Linked DNA regions of Homo sapiens: all the other regions are linked to region 1. The links are contacts of gene promoters, found by promoter capture Hi-C in human tissues and cell types (Jung and others, 2019). All regions are on one chromosome and are shown on one strand. The core of a region is centred on a gene start or on the middle of the fragment in contact, and the rest is flanking DNA. Distances in the headings are between cores, read along the strand shown.

Region 1 (3,215 bases), core at 225-2,724:
CTGGGGATCTTCCAGGCTGGCTTCATTCTGGACCAGAGAGCAGAGGAGAAGGAGAAAGAATATAAACCCACCCCTATGAGCCAGGGAACCACCCAAGCTGTAAGGATTTTGTGCAAGCTGCTGGAACTCGGGTTGGAAAAGCCACCCGGCAAGCAGCTGAAAGGAAGGATGCTTCTCCCTGCGTGGGCGCACGCCTGCTTCCTAAGAGATGATCCTTTGGGTGGGCTGATCATGCCTCCTCCTCTGGGGAGGGAGTCCTGCGAAAGCACGCACCTCAAAAGGAGTAAAGGCCCTATGGTGTCCCCAAAGCGACCCCTGTCGCGTTCTTTCTGCGGGTGGCCTCCCTGCATTACTGATTACTCGGAGCGGCTGAGCTGACGTCAGCATTCTGGGAGCGCCAATGACCTTTGGGGTCATCACATCCTCAGAAACTAGAGCAGGAGGGGAAGCGACCCCCAAGCCAGCACTCCCCCTACTTTCCACCAGGGAGCCGAGGTCGCGCCATCCTGGGGCGCATCTGGGGGTGGGGGACACACCAGCCCCCTCCCCCAACCCCTCTAGGGCCCTCGGCAGCAGGCGGTACTGGATGCCCACCCGGGGCTCTAAAGGACCTGGGCCGCACCGGGAACCCTCGCCCGGGTCTTCGAGCCCTCCCCTTCTCCCAATTCTTTCCGCAGTCTCAGGAGCCCCACGTTTCCCGCGGCGTGGGGACACGCACTTACCGCGGATCCACTGCGCAAACCTTGATGAACCTGAAAAAAGCAGGGTGGGGTGGGGTGGGGTGAGGGTGGGGGTGGCTAGACCCTGCTCGCACCCAGCGCCACGCACCGCTCTCTGGGCGGGTTCGAGTGCGCGCGCCGGGCGGGGCGGGACCCGGGGGCTGCGGTGTTTCGAGAAGCACGTGCTACTTCGCGCGCAGCGCCCCCGGAGACTGTGGGCTTCCTCGCTGCCTGGTCTACGGCAGGGCGGGCGCGGGGGCGTGTTTCAAAGGGTAGGGCACACAGTGAGACGCCGGGAGGCGGGATGGATCCGAAACCAGCTCGCAGCGAGTCCCAAGCGGCTGCGGCCGCCGCAGGGGTCTGGGCGCGGCGACGAGGGCGGCGTGGGGCGACGGGGAGCGGGACGGTGGCGCTGCACGCCGCGCACTTCCTGTTCAACACGCGCCGCCTCCCACCACCCGCGCTCCCCGAGCTTGCGTCGGTGCCAGGCCCGGCCCCTCACTGTCCCCTTGCGGTCCCCTGGGGCCGCGGCGCGGCGGGGGGCGAGGAGCGGGCGCCCTGCCCTTCTTGGCCCGCTGGACTCCGGGCGCCCCCTCCGGCGCGCAGGGCCGCGAGCGCCGCCGCCAGAACTTCTGCCAGCGGCCGCCCGTAGCCTAATTGCGCAGAGGGCTCGCCTTGCACCTCCTCTTCCCCCGCCGCCCTCCCTCTCGCCCAGAAAGGAGGACGGACCCAGCTGCAGGCTCCGAGCTGGTTTATTCTGCGGCCGAGGATTACATTTATGCACGAACGGGCTTACTGGTTCCAGATTCCCCACTTGGGCACAGGCATAGGAGGCTTGTTTTCCAAATTGCTGGTTTTAATTGCACCTGCCTTTCAGATTACCTCTGGGAATCTGTGGGAGGAGCCGAGAGGGTGGAAAATGTTTCTTAGCTTTGCAAAAGGAAGAAAACTTTGTCACCCAGCGGGAGACCTCAGCCACGAGTAACCCGGGGAGACACCAGAACCGGGACGGGCTTTGACTGATTTGCCTACGAGGGTTCCGTAGGAAAGGACGCTTGAATTCGGCGCTTCGGCGGCGGCGGCGGCCGCGCGAGTTCCCTGCTCACCCTCCCTCTCCGCGGAAGTCCCCACGAGGTGGCTTCAGGGTGTAACAGAGCGCGCGGCTCCAGTCCGAAGGCAGCGGCCGGGGGAGGGAAGGAGGGGACCGAACCCCCGAGGAGTTTCGCAGAATCAACTTCTGGTTAGAGTTATGGGAAGCGCGGTTATGGACACCAAGAAGAAAAAAGATGTTTCCAGCCCCGGCGGGAGCGGCGGCAAGAAAAATGCCAGCCAGAAGAGGCGTTCGCTGCGCGTGCACATTCCGGTGAGTCCCAGCACTCGGTCCCCTGCTCCCCAGCCCTCCTGTCGCTCCCGTCCCCGGCGCCGAAGCGGTTAACGCTGGACGCCCCGCGCGCGCCGTGCGTGCCCCTCCTGTCACTTCGGGCGGCTTGGGGAAAGGGTAGAGGGACAGGGCCCGAGCTGGGCTGGCGGAGCCGGGGCTCAATCTCTCTCTCTGCCCGCGTGCAGCCAGGGCTGGGGCTCCGCCTGGGGCGGGGGCTGGGCGGCTGCAGACTAGAGGGGGCGCCGGGCGCGGCGGGTGGGCGGCTGGGCGTAGCCCGGTATCCAGCCGGGTGCGGGTGCGGGGGGCGGTGCGTTGTGTTGTTTTGCTGAAAAGGGACGGTGTGGACTGCGCTCCGGGGAGGTGGAGCCCGCGCTCGGCTGCTGGAGACGGAGAGAGGGGAGGGGAGGGAGGAGAGGGGAGGGGCGGTGGGTGGGGAAAGCAGCGGGGCGGGGGTTGGGGGGAGCTGTGTAGCTGCGTCTTCCAATGCACCCCCTCCGCTCCAGTTTCTCTCCGGGCGTTTCTGGGCCTGGAGCGGGGGTCTCCTCTGCCGCCGTTCCCTTCCCCCGCCCCGGGAGTGTACTTTGGGTCTCTGTGGTATTTGGGGGCTCGGAGCTCCCTAATCCGTGCAGGCTGCATTGAACTTCAGCCCCGTCCGCGCCAGCCGCCCGGGAGGACATTGGCGACTCGGATCTGCCTGCGGCTTCACTTTGTCCAGCCAGAGGGGCGGCGGGCCGCGTAGTGGTTCTCTTTTCGGAAGGCGCCCCGGTAGCCCGCGGCCACTGTTCCTCGCCTCCACGTAGCGGGGTAGGGCGGTGGGAGGTGTGGCCCACTGGGTCACACCCTCCGCCTCAGCCAACCAAGTAAATGTTTGTGTACACACACACACACACACACACACACACACACACACACACACACACACACACCAGAGTGCTCCGTAGAGAAAGTTATTTTGCTCTCCCGGGGCAGGGTGGGAGTGCGCAGTGAATGGGCTGTCCGGACCCCTCATTAAAGCTAATCCTTCCCGACAGGGTCAGGCGCAGCTGGCATGGCCGAGGCAGGCCACTCACTTCCCACTGTGAATCCCAGGGCGCACTGCCCCGTGTTTGCTGAGC
Region 2 (3,215 bases), core at 428-2,927, 510 kb after region 1:
AACTTCTTGTTTTGGCAAGAAGAAAAATGGCTCTCCTGCTAATATTCCACCATGACCGCCCTCTAGACCTCAGTTCTTTCACTGCAGAACATATTGGATAGAATAAGGATGCTTCCAACTCCAAAATTCTAAGGTTTTCTTTAATGTACTTAATTGTTTCAAATGATTATAGTTTTTTAACCTGTGCTTTCATAATATAATACAACTTGTTTCTATGATTTGACTTATGTTTCTAGGCAAGGATGCAATCCCCAACTTTAATAATGACCTCATGAAAAAACAATTTTGTTTTTAAAATGACTTCCAGAAATACACTATGGTGTTAAAGAAAGAGAGAGAGGGGACCGTTTGCCACCACAGCAGGAAACAAAACTAAGGAGACTGCAGCATGTGAAAAATGATCCAATTGAAAAAGACAAGTTTCGGCCAGGCGCGGTGGCTCACACCTGTAATCCCAGGACTTTGGGAAACTGAGGTGGGCGCATCACTTGAGGTCAGGAGTTTGAGAACAGCCTGGCCAACATGGTGAAACCCCATCTTTACTAAAAATACAAAAATTAGCCAGGTGTGGTGGCACACACCTGTAATCCCAGCTACTCAGGAGGCTGAGGCACGAGAATTGCTTGAACCCGGGAGGCGGAGCTTGCAGTGAGCCAAGATCGTGCCACTGCACTCCAGCCTGGATGACAAAGTGAGACTCTGTCTCAAGAAAAAAAAAAGGACAAGTTTCTCCTTCCTTCCCAATCTGGAGTAATAAAGAGTTCCTGGTTATTAACACTCCTGTGGGATTATCTTTTTTTGTTCTTTCATACCCAAGAGAGCTAGGGCATGTGAAAGTGGGTACCTCTCTGCGGTTGGTAATATGAGTGGCCGCATGATCCACGTTCCCATCACACGCCCTCAGGCCAAGCCGGGCTTCCTGGGCAGTAAACCCCAACTGCAACAAATTGTCCACTTTTGATGGATCAATATATAGCTCTTTAAAGAGCTGACGTGCCTAGAGACAGGGAAATGTAAGAATCATGTAACCACGGCAATACTTAAAGCTTAATACAAAGTGAAAGCCTAAAAGAAATTAGATTGTATCCAATGTGAATTAAAAGGCATCAGATTTTGGATAAAATCTCTAAACTAGGCCTGTTATTAACAAGTACAAATGGAAACAGACCAACACTACCTCTACTCACATAACTTAGCCACAGCACAACACGAGGTAAGAGGCTGGGTGTTGCAGAAGTGACTGGTAACCACTTTGTTTTTGCAACAAAAGCCCCCGAATTTCAGCTGTGCACGTGGCATTTCTCACCCTCCCTTGCAGCTGGGTGTAGCCAGGTAGTGAAGTCGAAGTCAATGGCATGCAGCCACAGCGCTGGGTGCAGCTGCGGGGTCATCTCTCCAGTGGCCTGCTCTGGACTCTCTCTTGCCCCCTCTGCTGGCTGGAAGAGGCACTGACAGGAGCAACCTAGGACGCCTCGCTGAGGCTGGCGGGCTGCTCACTGCTCCGGCCTGGCTCACCTCTAGACGGCAAGATGAGTGAGCCATAAACTTCTATCCAATTAAAGTCACTGTCTTTTTGAAGTCTCATTACAGCATCTGGCTGTACTCTAACATATACAAATATGTTTCTGGTTCAACATCTCCTGTGCACGGAGAAAGCACAGGCATGTTTCTCACAAGTCACAAACTACTAAGTTAAAATCCTTAACTTCTGGGAATGTTTTTTAAAAGGAGGTGAAAATTGGTTACAACTTTACTTTTCTTACCTTGTTAAGATACTCATAAGCCTCTACATCATTTCCACTGTGATAGTTTCGGATCCCTTGAAGTAAGTAGAGTCTTAGAAACAGTACCTTCTCTTTCCCACAATTTCCCTAAAATTATTGAAGAAAAAAAGGATAAAATTGCCTTATTTCTAATTACAGGTCTATAATACTCATCTCTGTCATTCCCTTGGTCTCCAGAGGGGCAACATGATAGGTATTAAAATGTCCATGGCTTCACTATGACTGACGGCAAAAGTGAAGCCCCCTCTTCCCCATCCCCTGTGGTATGATAACATTCCTCATGCCACACAGGAGAGTCAGTGTCAGGGCACCAGCCTCCAGACATGCAGCACAGTGGCCCTTCTGGTCAGCAGAGAAGTATGCAGAAATCCAAACCAGGTATCAGAGAGTCTGCATCAGCAGGATTTTGATGACTTGGGGAAATCAGAAAAATCCTTACTCGAGCCACAGCTCTTGAGCTGTGACTCATTCACGTAAACCATTACTGCTGAAATGTCTATTTTCTGCATTTACATCTTGCAAATTAGACTCTACCGATATAAAGAAGTCAGCAGCTCTCTCCTGGTCAGGGTGATCACTGATGGGGTTCTATGACTAGCAAACCATGTTCCTTTGGGCTAAATGCTCACACGCTAAGTAAGAGAGACAGCCAGATTTGTAAAACATTGAACACTTTATAAATATATAGTTTAAAAAGACTATACTGCATACTACTATCAAAATGAAATTACCTTCTGGCAGTAGTTCAAATACTTTAACAGGAATAAACACAAATGCTAGAAATGGACTCAACGAGACATAAGATGAATTCCAGGAACATACTTTTATGTGGACCAGTCTCTGATGATTTTCTCCGTAACAATTTTTAAAGCATTTCTGGGCCAAGTTTAATTTTTTTTCTGCATCATCAAGGCATTCCAGCTGTTCCAGGCGGAAGTAACACCACACTATATCCAGCTGGAGGACGGCGTAGTTATCCACTGTGTCCAGCAGCTCTCTGCAACACTCACTGGAAAGAGAAGGACAGTGACATCACTGCCAAGCAGCATTTGAAACATTTTTAGCATTTGAAACCTTTTTGTGAATGACTGGAATTCTTTCCCCGTTCTTGGTATATATTCAAAGGCTGACTGCTCTAAAAGAGAGATCCTAATGTTTAGGAAGGGAGCTGTGTTTATAATCTCATCCTTCTAATGGGGGAAAGAAAGAGAAATCAGAAATCAGGGCTTAGGAATCAAAGCTTACCACCACTTGCCCCAGGACACACATGCAGCCCCTTGATAGGAAGCAGAACCCAGGGCCACTGTTTCAGAGGCCCTCAGCAAATACGGGGAAGACCATGCTTTAAAGCTGTGACTTCCAATCCTGACTGCAAATCAGCATCACCTGGGCCAGAGCAACGTTCTTTCTTTCTTTCTTTCTTTCTTTAAG
Region 3 (3,215 bases), core at 223-2,722, 280 kb before region 1:
ATTAAATAATCTAATAGACATGAAGGTAGTGGAAAATCTCCATGCAACATATTTCAGAAATCATTGTCCTTTAAAGGGTATTAATGTGATTTATTGGGTTTATTGTTGTTTGTAGATGTCTAAAATGAAAGAGCAGAAGTTGCTATATCAGAGAACGCCGTCGTGGAAGAGAGTTTAAGAACTGTCTGGGGTTTGATGTCTTTGTGTCAGTTCTTTAACTGTAAGATTCTAATTGGGGAGAATCAAGTTCCCTTAGTAGATGATCGCTAGCCAACTCTTTAGATCCAGAGGGTTCTTACAACTTCATCAAATAATTATCTCTTCTTTGGAAAATCTGCCCACTACCCTCTATTTGATGAGACATTTATTTAACCTAAGTCCCTTACTTTATTAATGGGGAAACTTTGGACCGAAGTGGAGAATAATCTGTCCCAATTGAGGATCCAGGTCCTCTTTCTACTGTACCTCAGTAGGCCAGCCTTTCTTGGGTCTCCTGCATGACAGCTACTTCTCTGCGTGAGGAGTGGGAGACAGCAGTTCCACAGGGTTGTGGAACTTAGTCTGAGACCTCACAATTGGCCTGGTAGACTCAAACTTGAACTCAACAGAAGGGACCAGTCTTTTGTTTTTCTCACCTCACTTTATCAGTTAAGAAAAATAAGGGCCGATCAAGTCAATGGCTAAGTTTTCTCCCATCTTGCCAGTGTAAAGAGCAGCAGTAGGACAGCTGTTTTCCCAGTCAGGTGAATGCAGGTGTGACCATTGCATATGTGTTGGACTTCTCTTTCCTTTTTTTTTTGTCTTTTTAAAGTTTTCCTTTTTTATTGTTAAATCCAACCAGCAGCTCTTTCCTTTTCAAGCTGCAGGAGTGCTGCCCTAGGCTCAACGATCTGGGATTTTGAAAAGGTGCTTTCATGCTCTCTATGTTACATGCTAATCAGAACATCTTCCTCTTTGGCAGGTCTTCAAACTTTGGTGCTGAAGCTTTCGTTAAAAGGAAACATACCATTTAAATTATTTTGTAACTAAATATTGTTCTTGTATTTTTTTCCCAGTGTGGCTCTGAGCTGATTCATTTGCTGCTCATCGTATAGGTGCTGCCCAGAGTATCCTTACAGCTGTATTCACAGATGTCAGCAGGGTTGGTACAGGAAGCCCCCAGTGGTGGATTTGCAGACTTTGATGTGTGTGTTTATGTTTTTTCAGGATACAGGATCACTGTGGTGATCGAGATACTCCTGACAGTTTTGTTCCCTCATCCTCTCCTGAGAGTGTGGTTGGGGTAGAAGTGAGCAGGTATCCAGATCTGTCATTGGTCAAGGAGGAGCCTCCAGAACCGGTGCCGTCCCCCATCATTCCAATTCTTCCTAGCACTGCTGGGAAAAGTAAGAACAACACTTAACCTTATTATTTCCCTTTACACTACGCCAATTTACTAATGTAAATATTTTGATTTTGAAAATCCATTAACACTATTTTCCTCTTTTTTTTCTCTCTTTTTAAAGGTTCAGAATCAAGAAGGAATGACATCAAAACTGAGCCAGGCACTTTATATTTTGCGTCACCTTTTGGTCCTTCCCCAAATGGTCCCAGATCAGGTCTTATATCTGTAGCAATTACTCTGCATCCTACAGCTGCTGAGGTAAAAGATTAAATGACTTCTTAATGTTAAACAGTATGTCCCCAATTTTCAAAGATGGGTCAGGTGTCTACCATAAAACACACACAAACAGGATCACTGAGGATAAAGGGTCAGAGAGCAGAGCTGATGCTCACTGCAGACCTCTCAGCTGCCTTTGAGTGCCATCGTTTGTCATTGAATTGGTCTCAGCCTACGTCAAGTAAAAAGGGAAATTAGAGCTCACATTTTCTTATTAAAGGATGTATACTTTAGAGAACTCTTTTTTTTTTTTTTTTTTTAATAGAGACACAGTCTCCTTCTGTTGCCCAGGCTGGAGTGCAGTGGCACAGTCATAGCTCACTGCAGCCTCAAACTTACTGGGCTCAAGTAATCCTTCTGCTTTAGCCTCCTCAGTAGCTGGGACTACATGTGTGAGCCATCATGTCCATCTCAGAAAAAACTTCTTTGTAACTGTTAACAGAGAAGAAAATTAAGCAATGAAAAAGAACTTTATCAACAGTAATAGTTTTGCAGAAGCAATAGAAATGTTCTTCAAGTAGCATCTGCTTATATCAAACATAAGTAATTTCCTGAGGATTTTTTATTTTTTTAACTCTGAATTCTGTGAAGACATTTCAGTAGAGACCAAACTAGAAGTCCAATGATGTGATATTTTGGTTATCAACAAAATACAGCAGTAGCAAGACCTTTGTCTGTTCTTACGGGTTGTGTCAGAGCTGGAGGGAAGCCCCTGGAAGTAAGCTTTCTGACCACCTGTAGGAACTGACGGGGTCTGTCAGATGTTACAATATCTAAAATAGTTTAATGTGTTACTAGATATTTAATGTTAATTGGAATCCCTTTATGAGGATTTCTGTTTATAAATTTCTTTTTTTGGATATTAGTTCGTTAGAGCTAATTTTTTTCCTGAGGTTCTTTAAGTCTAAATAAAATTTGTTGGATTTTCTTAGAATCTATGTATCATGCAAAGAGGATTTATCCTAAGTGTGTATTTTTCTTCAGTGGTTCACTGTTGCCTTCTGGGTGAATAATACAGCATTTGCATTTGGTTTTAGAACATTAGCAGTGTTGTGGCTGCATTTTCCGACCTTCTTCACGTCCGAATCCCTAACAGCTATGAGGTTAGCAGTGCTCCAGATGTCCCATCCATGGGTTTGGTCAGTAGCCACAGAATCAACCCGGGTTTGGAGTATCGACAGCATTTACTTCTCCGTGGGCCTCCGCCAGGATCTGCAAACCCTCCCAGATTAGTGAGCTCTTACCGGCTGAAGCAGCCTAATGTACCATTTCCTCCAACAAGCAATGGTGAGCTAGTGAGCTTTTTGTTAACCCCAAATCCATTCCTGATTCAAAAGTTAAGCTTACTCTTTGAGATACTGATTATCTTTTAACAACGGACAGGTAACATGCTGGCGTATAGTCCTTGGTGAACTTACCATGTGTGGGTGTTCTGTTTTCTGTGCTGTGATTTTGACCTCTAGTGCTTTGGCCTGTGTATTCTGTCATGCTGTCACCAGGGGCTATGTGAGTGCCAGCCATCTGTGCAGGCTGCCAGAAGAAGCCTGTGACGGGC

What was found. Contacts are between HindIII fragments. The study calls those that stand out against the background at their distance.
Region 2: a contact is called between a fragment that was not itself captured here and the fragment with the promoter of PRKAG2 in region 1, in 1 of the 25 tissues and cell types used here (thymus).
Region 3: a fragment that was not itself captured here is called in contact with the fragment with the promoter of PRKAG2 in region 1 in 1 of the 25 tissues and cell types used here (mesendoderm cells).

The regions. Positions count from the first base shown.
Region 1 is chr7:151,875,374-151,878,588 of GRCh38, reverse strand. PRKAG2 (protein kinase AMP-activated non-catalytic subunit gamma 2) reads left to right here and starts at 1,474. Exons shown (of 16, transcript NM_016203.4): 1 at 1,474-2,082. The coding sequence starts at 1,969. PRKAG2-AS1 (PRKAG2 antisense RNA 1) reads right to left here and starts at 1,547. Exons shown (of 3, transcript NR_038926.1): 1 at 1,449-1,547; 2 at 723-752; 3 at 1-27. RefSeq lists silencers at 980-1,409, 2,172-2,221, 2,282-2,421 and an enhancer at 2,612-2,731. The HindIII fragment of the contact is 16,422 bases long and covers 1-3,215 here.
Region 2 is chr7:151,366,517-151,369,731 of GRCh38, reverse strand. NUB1 (negative regulator of ubiquitin like proteins 1) reads right to left here. Exons shown (of 15, transcript NM_001243351.2): 9 at 2,607-2,793; 10 at 1,764-1,871; 11 at 845-997. It also overlaps a transcript of WDR86 not described here. Among named protein-coding and RNA genes, the nearest start is that of NUB1, 26 kb to the right of the region's middle. The HindIII fragment of the contact is 5,819 bases long and covers 1-3,215 here.
Region 3 is chr7:152,152,437-152,155,651 of GRCh38, reverse strand. KMT2C (lysine methyltransferase 2C) reads left to right here. Exons shown (of 59, transcript NM_170606.3): 47 at 1,207-1,385; 48 at 1,506-1,642; 49 at 2,698-2,947. Among named protein-coding and RNA genes, the nearest start is that of GALNT11, 130 kb to the right of the region's middle. The HindIII fragment of the contact is 5,593 bases long and covers 1-3,215 here.